Linked DNA regions of Homo sapiens: all the other regions are linked to region 2. Evidence: promoter capture Hi-C in 16 types of primary human blood cells and fetal thymus (Javierre and others, 2016). All regions are on one chromosome and are shown on one strand. Each heading gives the region's core, a stretch centred on a gene start or on the middle of the fragment in contact. The rest is flanking DNA. Distances are from core to core; before and after follow the strand shown. Region 1 has its middle 12 kb from the start of SNX12. Region 2 holds the start of ITGB1BP2 (integrin subunit beta 1 binding protein 2). Region 3 overlaps OGT (O-linked N-acetylglucosamine (GlcNAc) transferase).

Evidence for each region. The method cuts DNA at HindIII sites, captures the fragments that hold promoters and counts their contacts. A CHiCAGO score of 5 or more calls a contact.
Region 1: a fragment that was not itself captured here is called in contact with the fragment with the promoter of ITGB1BP2 in region 2 in 2 of 17 cell types (non-activated CD4 T cells and naive CD4 T cells); the score reaches 5.7 in non-activated CD4 T cells.
Region 3: a fragment that was not itself captured here is called in contact with the fragment with the promoter of ITGB1BP2 in region 2 in 1 of 17 cell types (fetal thymus); the score reaches 5.9 in fetal thymus.

The regions. Positions count from the first base shown.
Region 1 is chrX:71,054,894-71,057,842 of GRCh38, reverse strand. No RefSeq gene overlaps it. Among named protein-coding and RNA genes, the nearest start is that of SNX12, 12 kb to the left of the region's middle. The HindIII fragment of the contact is 5,418 bases long and covers 1-2,949 here.
Region 2 is chrX:71,300,500-71,303,750 of GRCh38, reverse strand. ITGB1BP2 (integrin subunit beta 1 binding protein 2) reads right to left here and starts at 2,001. Exons shown (of 11, transcript NM_012278.4): 1 at 1,881-2,001; 2 at 1,565-1,614; 3 at 1,418-1,474; 4 at 1,195-1,340; 5 at 395-489; 6 at 235-290; 7 at 54-124. The coding sequence starts at 1,944. NONO (non-POU domain containing octamer binding) reads right to left here. Exons shown (of 12, transcript NM_007363.5): 12 at 2,583-3,251. RefSeq lists an enhancer at 1-203. The HindIII fragment of the contact is 1,925 bases long and covers 1,310-3,234 here.
Region 3 is chrX:71,548,858-71,551,689 of GRCh38, reverse strand. All of the region lies in intron 5 of OGT (O-linked N-acetylglucosamine (GlcNAc) transferase), which reads right to left. Among named protein-coding and RNA genes, the nearest start is that of OGT, 17 kb to the right of the region's middle. The HindIII fragment of the contact is 817 bases long and covers 968-1,784 here.

The DNA.
Region 1 (2,949 bases), core at 340-2,839, 250 kb after region 2:
AAATCTGGCCAGGTATGGTGGCACATGATAGTCCCAGCTACTTGGGAGGCTGAAGCCGGAGGATTGCTTGAGCCCAGGAGGTTGTGGAGTGAGCCATGCAGTGAGCCATGATTGTACCACTGCACTCCAGCCTCAAAACAAAATGAAGAGATGTCTATACAAGGCAGGAAAATGCTAGAGACAGAGTAAGAGATTCAGGCACATCTGGTTAGTTGTCCAGTCTTTTTCTTTTTTAAAAATATCAGGCCAGGTAAATCTCCCTTGGATGTCAAATTGGCCATTTTGGCACATTAACTGGGCCAGGCAAGAATCCTAAATCCAAACCCTCTTACCCATTAACACTGAGGAGAAGCATACTTTTCTTTGATAAGGAATTCTAATTTACATGGGTATTTGCATGTTTACCACTAATTAATCCCCTTTATCTATAGTGCAGAAAGGGCTTAACCTTATGCTGGAACCTGGGGGACAGAGGCTAACGAAAAATTTTGAACATAGCTAGACCCAAAAGAAGTCTAAATCTTCACATTCCAAAGATGCCTTATCTACCCTTTGACCCATTCTTTGAGACAAGGAATTAAGCCAGTAAAGGTGGGAGAGGTGGATAACATTCAGGCTTCTCTGGAGTTGATAGTTATCCTACATGAGATACTTCTATGTTGAAGATATTCCTACTTCTATGTTGAAATATATGCTGTAATAATTTAAGTAAAATTACTTTCTTTTGTGGAAATGTAGAACAGCTGCTCACTGAAATGGATATTTCTTCATATCCTTGAAAACTGTTGAGTCACCCTTAGTATTCTCTTCTTAGATATAATAAGTTCTAATTTTTCCTTACTTGGCTCATTTTTAACCCTTTTATCTTTTTATTATTCTGAAATCTCTCCAAGGCCCTCACATGTCCTCAAGTTGTAGAGTCTTAAATTGGACAACACTTTAATTACAGCCTGAAGGTTAGGTAGTTGTTATTCCATTTATATATCTTAGTATTTGAGTTTACTTTTGAAATATAAAGTCTTAGTGACTAATTTAGCATGTGGTTCTCTGCCACTCCCTTCCTGACCACCCACCACCCCTCATTCTTATCTTCTTTTTTTACCTTGTTTGTACAAAAACCAGTTGTTGCCTATTTTATTTCTTCTGTCCATACCCTGTCTGTCTATGCATTTAAAAACAGAGAACTCATTCCTTATAAAACAGACAAACCAGGGATAATTGTCAACATCAAAAAAGAATTCTTTAAATCACTGCAGGCTTCCTTTAAATAGGTGTTTCCTGTGGTGGTTTTAAGTGTTTTTATATAGGTCATCAACTGCTTGATATAAAGAAACTAAAGATAAAGGGTTAAGAGGCAGTGCCAGTTGAAGAACAGTTAGAAATTGGGATAAAACAGTAGTTCTTAGGTAAACAGTAAAATACATTCAGATTCACAGAAAAAAAATATGTATATATATATTTTTTGAGATGGAGTCTCACAGTGTTGTCCAGGCTGGAGTGCAGTGGCGTGATCTCAGCTCACTGCAATCTCTGCCTCCCAGGTTCAAGCGATCCTCCTGCCTCAGCTTCCCGAGTAGCTGGGACTACAAGCGTGGCACCACCATACCCGGCTAATTTTTGTATTTTTAGTAGAGACGGGGTTTCACCACGTTGGCCAGGCTGGTTTCGAACTCCTGAGCTCAAGTGATCTGCCTGCCTCGGCCTCCCAAAGTGCTGGGATTACAGGCGTAAGCCACTGTACCTGGCCTGATTTATGTATTACTTTTCAAGAGAATGTTATACCAATAATATTTTTTGTCTAGATACAGTGAACTTTTCATCATCTGTACTAATGGAGGCATGTACATTTTAATTTTGTTAGGCATTTTTGTTGTAACATTTAAATATAGGGATGTCTAATCATAAAATTTAAAAATATTTCATAATTTCATCATACTGAAGACTCAGGAAGATCTGAAAAGAAACAGAAAGAGTACCAGACCTGGAATAGAAACCTGACTTCTAAAATTGGCTATATAGCTAGCTATAGGACCTTAGTTGAATTGCTTCACCATTTTAGGCCTGTTTTCTGAACTATACAATGAGGGATTTCGACTAAATGAGGGATTTTGACCAAATGATCTCTGAGGTATCTTAAATCTCTAGCTTTTTATGATTTCCCACCCTTGCCAAGGAGTTGAGTAAACATTGGAGGTGATGCCACCAAAAAAGTGAAAGCACAATTTTTCCTTTATATGATGGAGTTTGCTGTAGTGTAGTTTTCTCTTTCAGAAATGAACGATTATCCTGATTAGATTTTGTTTGCCCACATCCTGTTATATCAAGTCATGAGTATACCCCCATTGAAACTCAGAGTTGATTTGGTTTACAGTTGTTCTAATTGTATCCTAAGTCTTCTAGCTAAAATTTTAAAATGAAGTAGTCACCCCATGGCGTTATTTATTTATTTTTTGAGAGGGAATCTTGCTCTGTCGCTCAGGCCAGAGTGCAGTGGTGTGATCTTGGCTCACTGCAACCTGTGCCTCCCAGGTTCAAGCGATTCTCCTGCCTCAGCCTCCAGAGTAGCTGGGACTACAGGGGCATGCCACCACGCCCGGCTAATTTTTGTATTTTTAGTAGAAGCGGGGTTTCACCATATTGGCCAGGCTGGTCTCAAACTCCTGACCGTATGATCTGCCCACCTCGACCTCCCAAAGTGCTGGGATTGATTACAGGTGTGAGCCACTACGCCCAGCCCCCATGGAGCTATTTTTATTTAAAACACATACATTATAACTCTATTGATCTGATTACAAAAGTGCCTATTTTGTTAAAATGTTTTATTGTGATAAAAATTCAAAAATTATTAATGTTAGCCAACAAAATTCAAGCAAAACATAAATGTGTAAAGTAAAAAGTGAAAGATTTTTCCTTAGTCCCTCTCACCACTCCCATTCTCCAAGAATAACT
Region 2 (3,251 bases), core at 752-3,251:
ATTAGGAGAAACCTGTCTCATAGCCTCATAGCCCACCCAGTCCCCTCCCTCACCCCTCATGGAATCGGGGTGCTCCTGGGTGGTAGGTACATGGAGTAGCATCACTCTCAGGGCCTTGGTAAACCTAAGAAGGATAAAGTAGAACCAGGTCATTCTAAGGTATATCCTACTCAGCCTATCTATACCCAGTCATCCCTCAGCCATATGCTTGAGCCCCTCAAAACTCTCACTCACAGCATCACATCCTGGGTTCTGGCAGCTGGAACCAGTCCGGATCAGACTGTCAAGTCCTGGGCAAGGGAAACAGAGTCAGGAACTTATCCATCCCCCCACTCAATTGCCACTTCCACTAAATTCCAGTCTATGAAGTTGATCCTACTAAAGACCCACCTACCTGCCCCAGGTTCCTGGTCTAATTCCTTCTGTTCCAATGCCATTTCCAGGGCTTGGGATATATTTAGCGGCAGCAGCTTCAGAGGCAACTCTGACCTAGGGGTTAAGGGTGGTGATTTAGTTCTGACCCATTAGCTATGATTGCTAGCTCCAACACTCCCACCGATGGTAATGGAATTAAAGAAGCCTGGTGAAAGTGAGGCAGAGTTGGAGAGGTTGGGTAGCAACCCCATTGCCAATTTTCATCTCTGTGGACATCCCAAATACCTGAACCCTAGAGAAATCCCCAGCACTTCTCTTACCCATCTACTCAGTTGCTCTAAACCTAACCACTTTTCTCTGCAGAACTGAGTCATATCCTCTTCCTCTTTATCTAATCGTGGACCTAATATGACTTCCTTCTGTTGCTCTTATTATTCCCACAAAATTTGGGAAGTCTCCTGGCTGCCAATAATACAATACATCCTTTTCTTGATATGAGATTTATCTTAAAGTTCTTTTCTAGAAAGAGAAGTCATTCTCAACAATCCCTTTTGTGTTATACACTAAGGATGTATTTGTGAGGGGCTATCTACTCTGTTGATTCAGGTATCTATCCCATCATCCCACACCACCTTAGAGGAAAGGGCGTTATTTCCAGACACAAATTTCCCCTAAGGCACAGGATATACACCATCCAAACCCTGACATCTGGCCCTCCTCACATCCCTGGTCCCTAGTTCCCAGTCCTCAATGACCCATTAATCACTCCTAGGAAGCTACATGAAAATAAGAAAAGTCCAGGGGCCTCCTCCTCTTTACTTGGGCCTCTCCCGGCGCAAGGTCTCTGCTGACTTTGGAATCACATTCAGAGGTTTTTGCTCCTGAAGTGAACTGCTTGTAGCAGGGCCTTCAGGTTGAGGGGCCTCAGGAAGCTTCTCAGCACAGTGTGGTCCCATAGTACAGCCCTAGTATAGATAAGGAGATAGGATTAGGGATAGAATCCTTCTATTGGGGGCAGAATCCAAGTACATAAATAATTTACCTTGATGTTTAAGAACTCAGAGAAATCTACAGTTCGCTTTCGGCAGCAGGACCAACCCTGATAACAAGAGACCCAGATCAGCTTAGCTTCCTGGGTATTATCTCTTCTGGGAAATGCTCTTGCTAACCCCCCTCACCTACTCCTCACCTTAAGTGCATCATGGAAGATTGGGACCCCAGGGTGATGGCAACAGGAATCTGTGGACATCAGTAGAAGTTATCAAGGAAGGGAAGATAACTATACCAAGTATCATTTTTCACCTCTTCCCCGGGTTTCTATTTATGGTTTCTTCCCATATAATGTGAAGAAAAAAAAAAAAGCCAGCAAAGGCTGTAAGATCACTCAGACCAATTAAACTAGGGCAGGTAGTTTCTTTCCCCGCTCCTCAAACACACTGCCCCCCAGCTGACCAGTCCCCAACACCCACACAGAGCCCCTGGCCAGGTCAGGATTCTTTACTCACCAGGAAGGTTGGTATTAGGGTCAAAGTGCTGCCCACAGCCTTTGTTACGACAGAGTAGAGACATGGAAGCGTTGGTTGAATGATTACTGAAAGGGTATTTCAAGGAGTCTGGCTGCCGAATGGGGAACACCTCTTAGTCTGGAGGCTTTTAGCTGCCTGGAAGGGCCAGCTGTTTCTATCTTTAGTTCAGGAGGCGTACACCTCCTAACATGGGCAAGGGAACTTCAATTCGTCTTTCCAGCCAATAGGAAAGAGCTCGGGGGCATTTTAGCTCTGAGGCTCAGGAAAAAAGGATCAGGCAGAGTAGGGCTTTGAACTTGGGTGAGGTCAGCTCACCACTACTGAGACAGTTTTAGATTCACCACAGCAATTCCAAGCCTTGGACACAGCAGCAGCTGCTAAGAAACAAATACCAATTTTGAGACCCCCCCCGCGCCCCCAGCTCGATGAGGATTAAGCCCATTTTCTTCCTCTTTCAGAGGGGCAGCTTTCCTCCATCATTACTTCCATGTAGTATCAATAGCGCTAATCCTTGCCAACCCCTCCAGCCATTTGATGCACCTCATCCCCACCTCCTCCCCATGTTTGTCTAGATCAATACTGTAATCCAAAGGTCATAAAGGATTACCTTTATAGAGTCTACTGCTCATCTCCTAAGATAACTCCCCTCCCTCCTTTCCCCTTCAAAAACACCACAGAAAATTAAAAGGCTTAAAATGTATTTTAATAGGTTGATGCTGCATTACTGCTCCATTTTTCAGAAAAACTCCAAATATATGAGACAAATCAAACACAGTACACCAATGAAAAAAAAAATGCACAGCATGACTACCTAAGATAGGCGAGTCTAAGAGCTACTGTCAGACCTTCAGTATACAGTAACCCTGTTCCCAAGATTGTACTAGGCCTATCAAGAAAAGCTGTGAACAGCAACATCATAGACACAAAAGGGTCATTCCTGGGTGTCCTCACCCAAGAAAAAGATGGAGGCAAGTTAACACAAGATTTTTTTTTAAAGATACACTAAAATGAAAATCTCTAAGAGAAAATGTCTTCTTTAGGACATGAAGGGGTAATATATGGGGTATAACAGAACCGTATGTACGCTGCCTGTGACCTTTGTGGACGTTTGCCTGAATTCTCACCTGGGAGTGAATGGAGCAATGGGGCTAAGGTCATTGGGGGATGTTTGGTTTTTGTGGTGTATGTGGCAGTTTCTCTGGGGCTGGGGGAGTGTAAGGATAAGAAGCAAGTGAGGTTGGGCACGGTGGCTCACCCCTGTAATCCCAGCATTTTGGGAGGCCGAGGTGGGTAGATCACGAGGTCAGGAGTTCAAGATCAACCTGGACAAGCTTGAACCCGGGAGGCAGA
Region 3 (2,832 bases), core at 127-2,626, 250 kb before region 2:
ACCTGATTGTATCTCGTTTTTGTCACTGATAAATGCTTTAACTTTTTTTTTATTTTTTGAGATGGAGTCTTGCTCTGTCGCCCAGGCTGGAATGCAATGGTGCAATCTCAGCTCACTGCAACCTCCACCTCCCAGGTTCAAGAGATTCTCCTGCCTCCGCCTCCTGAGTAGCTGGGATTACAGGCTCCTGCTACCATGCCTGGCTAATTTTTGTATTTTTAGTAGAGATGGGGTTTTGCCATGTTGGCCAGGCTGGTCTCGAACTCCTGACCTCAGGTGATCCACCTGCCATGGCCTCCCGAAGTGCTGGGATTACAGGCGTGAGCCACCAAGCCCGGCCTAATAAATGCTTTCACTATTAATGGTGATATTCTATCATTCCTTCTTCACTTATTAGCTAGAATGCTTTTATAAAGAAAAGCTTCCCCCATCAACTATTGGGTTACTCTATGGTCTAGTTCATACAGGAGAGGGAAGACATATGCTTTATTCTTTTAATTTTTAAATTTAAAGTTGATATATAATTGTGTATATTTATGGCATACAATGTGATGGTTTGATCCACGTATACATTTTAGAAAGAGTCAACCAAGCTAATTAACATAGCCATCACCTCACTAACTTATTTTTTTGTGGTTGAGGACATTAAAAACCTATTCTTTTTGCAATTTTGAAATATACATTATTAACAACTGTGGTCACCATGCAGTACTACAGATCACTAAAACTTATTCCTCCAGTCTAACTGAAACTTTGATCAATATCTCCCTTTTCCCCATCCCTCCTCCACCCCCCCAAGCCTCACCACCCTTCTACTCTCTGTTTCTATGAAATCAACTTTTTTAGATTCCACAAATAGGTGACATAATACAGTATCTACTTTCTGTGCCTGGTTTATTTCACTTAGCATAAAGCACAGATAACAAAAGCAAAAATATGCAATGAGATTGCATCAAACTAAAAAGCTTCTGCACAGTAAAGGAAACAATTACACAGAGTGAATAGGCAACCCCGGATTAGGAGAAAGCATTTGCAAACTATACAACTGATAAAGGGTTAAGAAGCTCAACTCAGTAGCAAATACGCCCATTAAAATACGGGCAAAGGATCTAAACAGACATTTCTCAAAAGAAGAGGTACAGGCCAGACACAGTGGCTCATGTCTGTAATCCTATCACTTGGGGAGACCAAGGTGGGAGGATCACTTGAGCCCAGGAGTTCGAGGTTGCAGTGAGCTATTATGGCGCCACTGCACTCCAGCCTGGGCAACAGAGCAGGACCTCATCTCAAAAAAACAAAACAAAACAAAACAAAAAAAACAAATGGCAAGCAGATATATAAAAAATATGCTCAACATCACTAATCATCAAGGAAATGCAAAATAAAACCATGAGTTAGCATCTCACACTTGTTAGTATAGCTATCATCAAAAGGACGAATAATAACAAGTGTTAGTGAGGATGTAAAGAAAGGGAAGCCTTGTAACTGATGGGGGAAGTATAAATTGGCACAGCCATTTTGGGAACTAGTATAGAGGTTCCTCAAAAACTTTATTCTTCTCTTTTTAACCAGTTTTCCAAATTAATTGTTCCTTGTAAGTCTTCCAAAGATGACCAATGAATTTTTTAGCATAATTATAAGCTCATAGATTTAAACATACTTGATAAGTTTTAGTATATTTCAGTTATTATTCCTATTGATGCTCAAGTCTGCATCTTTAGCCAGTGGGAGCCTCCTCAAGTTGCTTCCTGAGTCCTTTTGATGCAAAGTAATATGTCAAAGCTTCCTTGCTTTCTGGTATGACAAGACATTCCAAAAATTTTTTTTAAATTCCTGCCCCAGACCTGGAATCTGCCTTTTCACCAAGAAGCCCTGCTTCTTTAAAGCCCATTTATAAAAATCATTTTTAATTACTAAAGTACATTTTTTTTGAGACAGGGTCTCACACCATCACCCAGGCTGGAGTGCAGTTGCATGATCACAGCTCACTGCAGACTCAAACTCCCATCTCAGCCTCCCCAGTAGCTGTGTGTGTGTCACCACGCATAGCTACTTTTTGTATTTTTTGTAGAGACAGGGTCTTACTATGTTGCCCAGGCTGGTCTCAAACTACTAGGCTCAAGCAATCCTCCCACCTCAGCCTCGCAAAGTGCTGGATTACAGGTGTGAGCCACAGCACGCAGCCTAAAGTACATTTTCAACACAAAATTGGAAACTGCCATACCATGTACTATCCAGCAAATGCTGCAATAAAGATGTTTCTCAACTTAGGATGGGGTTATGTCCCGATACACCCATCATAAGTTGAAAATATCTTAAGTCAAAATGCATCTGTAACACTTAGTGAACATCCTAGCTTAGCCTAATTTTTTTTTTTTTTTTTTTTTTTTTTTTGAGACAGGGCCTCACTTTGTCACCCAGGCTGGAGTGCAGTGGTGCAATCTTGGTTCACTGCAACCTCCAGCTCCCAGGCCCAAGCAATCCTCCCACCTCAGCCCTACAAATGGCTGGGACTACAGGAGCACACTGCCACACCCAGCTCATTTTTGTAGAGACAGGGTCTCGTTATGTTGTCCAGGCTGGTTTTCAACTCCTAAGCTCAAGCAATCTGCCCGCCTCGGCCTCCCAAAGCACTGGGATCACAGATGTGAGCTATCACACCTGGCCCGGCTAGTCTCATTTTAAACATGCTCAGAACACATTAGCCTACGTTTAGGTAAAATTACCTAATACAAAGCCCTTTTTTAAAACTTTAATATGAGTTTTATTTTAATTCCAACATTTATTTTAGGTTTGGGGTACACATGCAGGTTTGTTAAATGGGTAAATTGT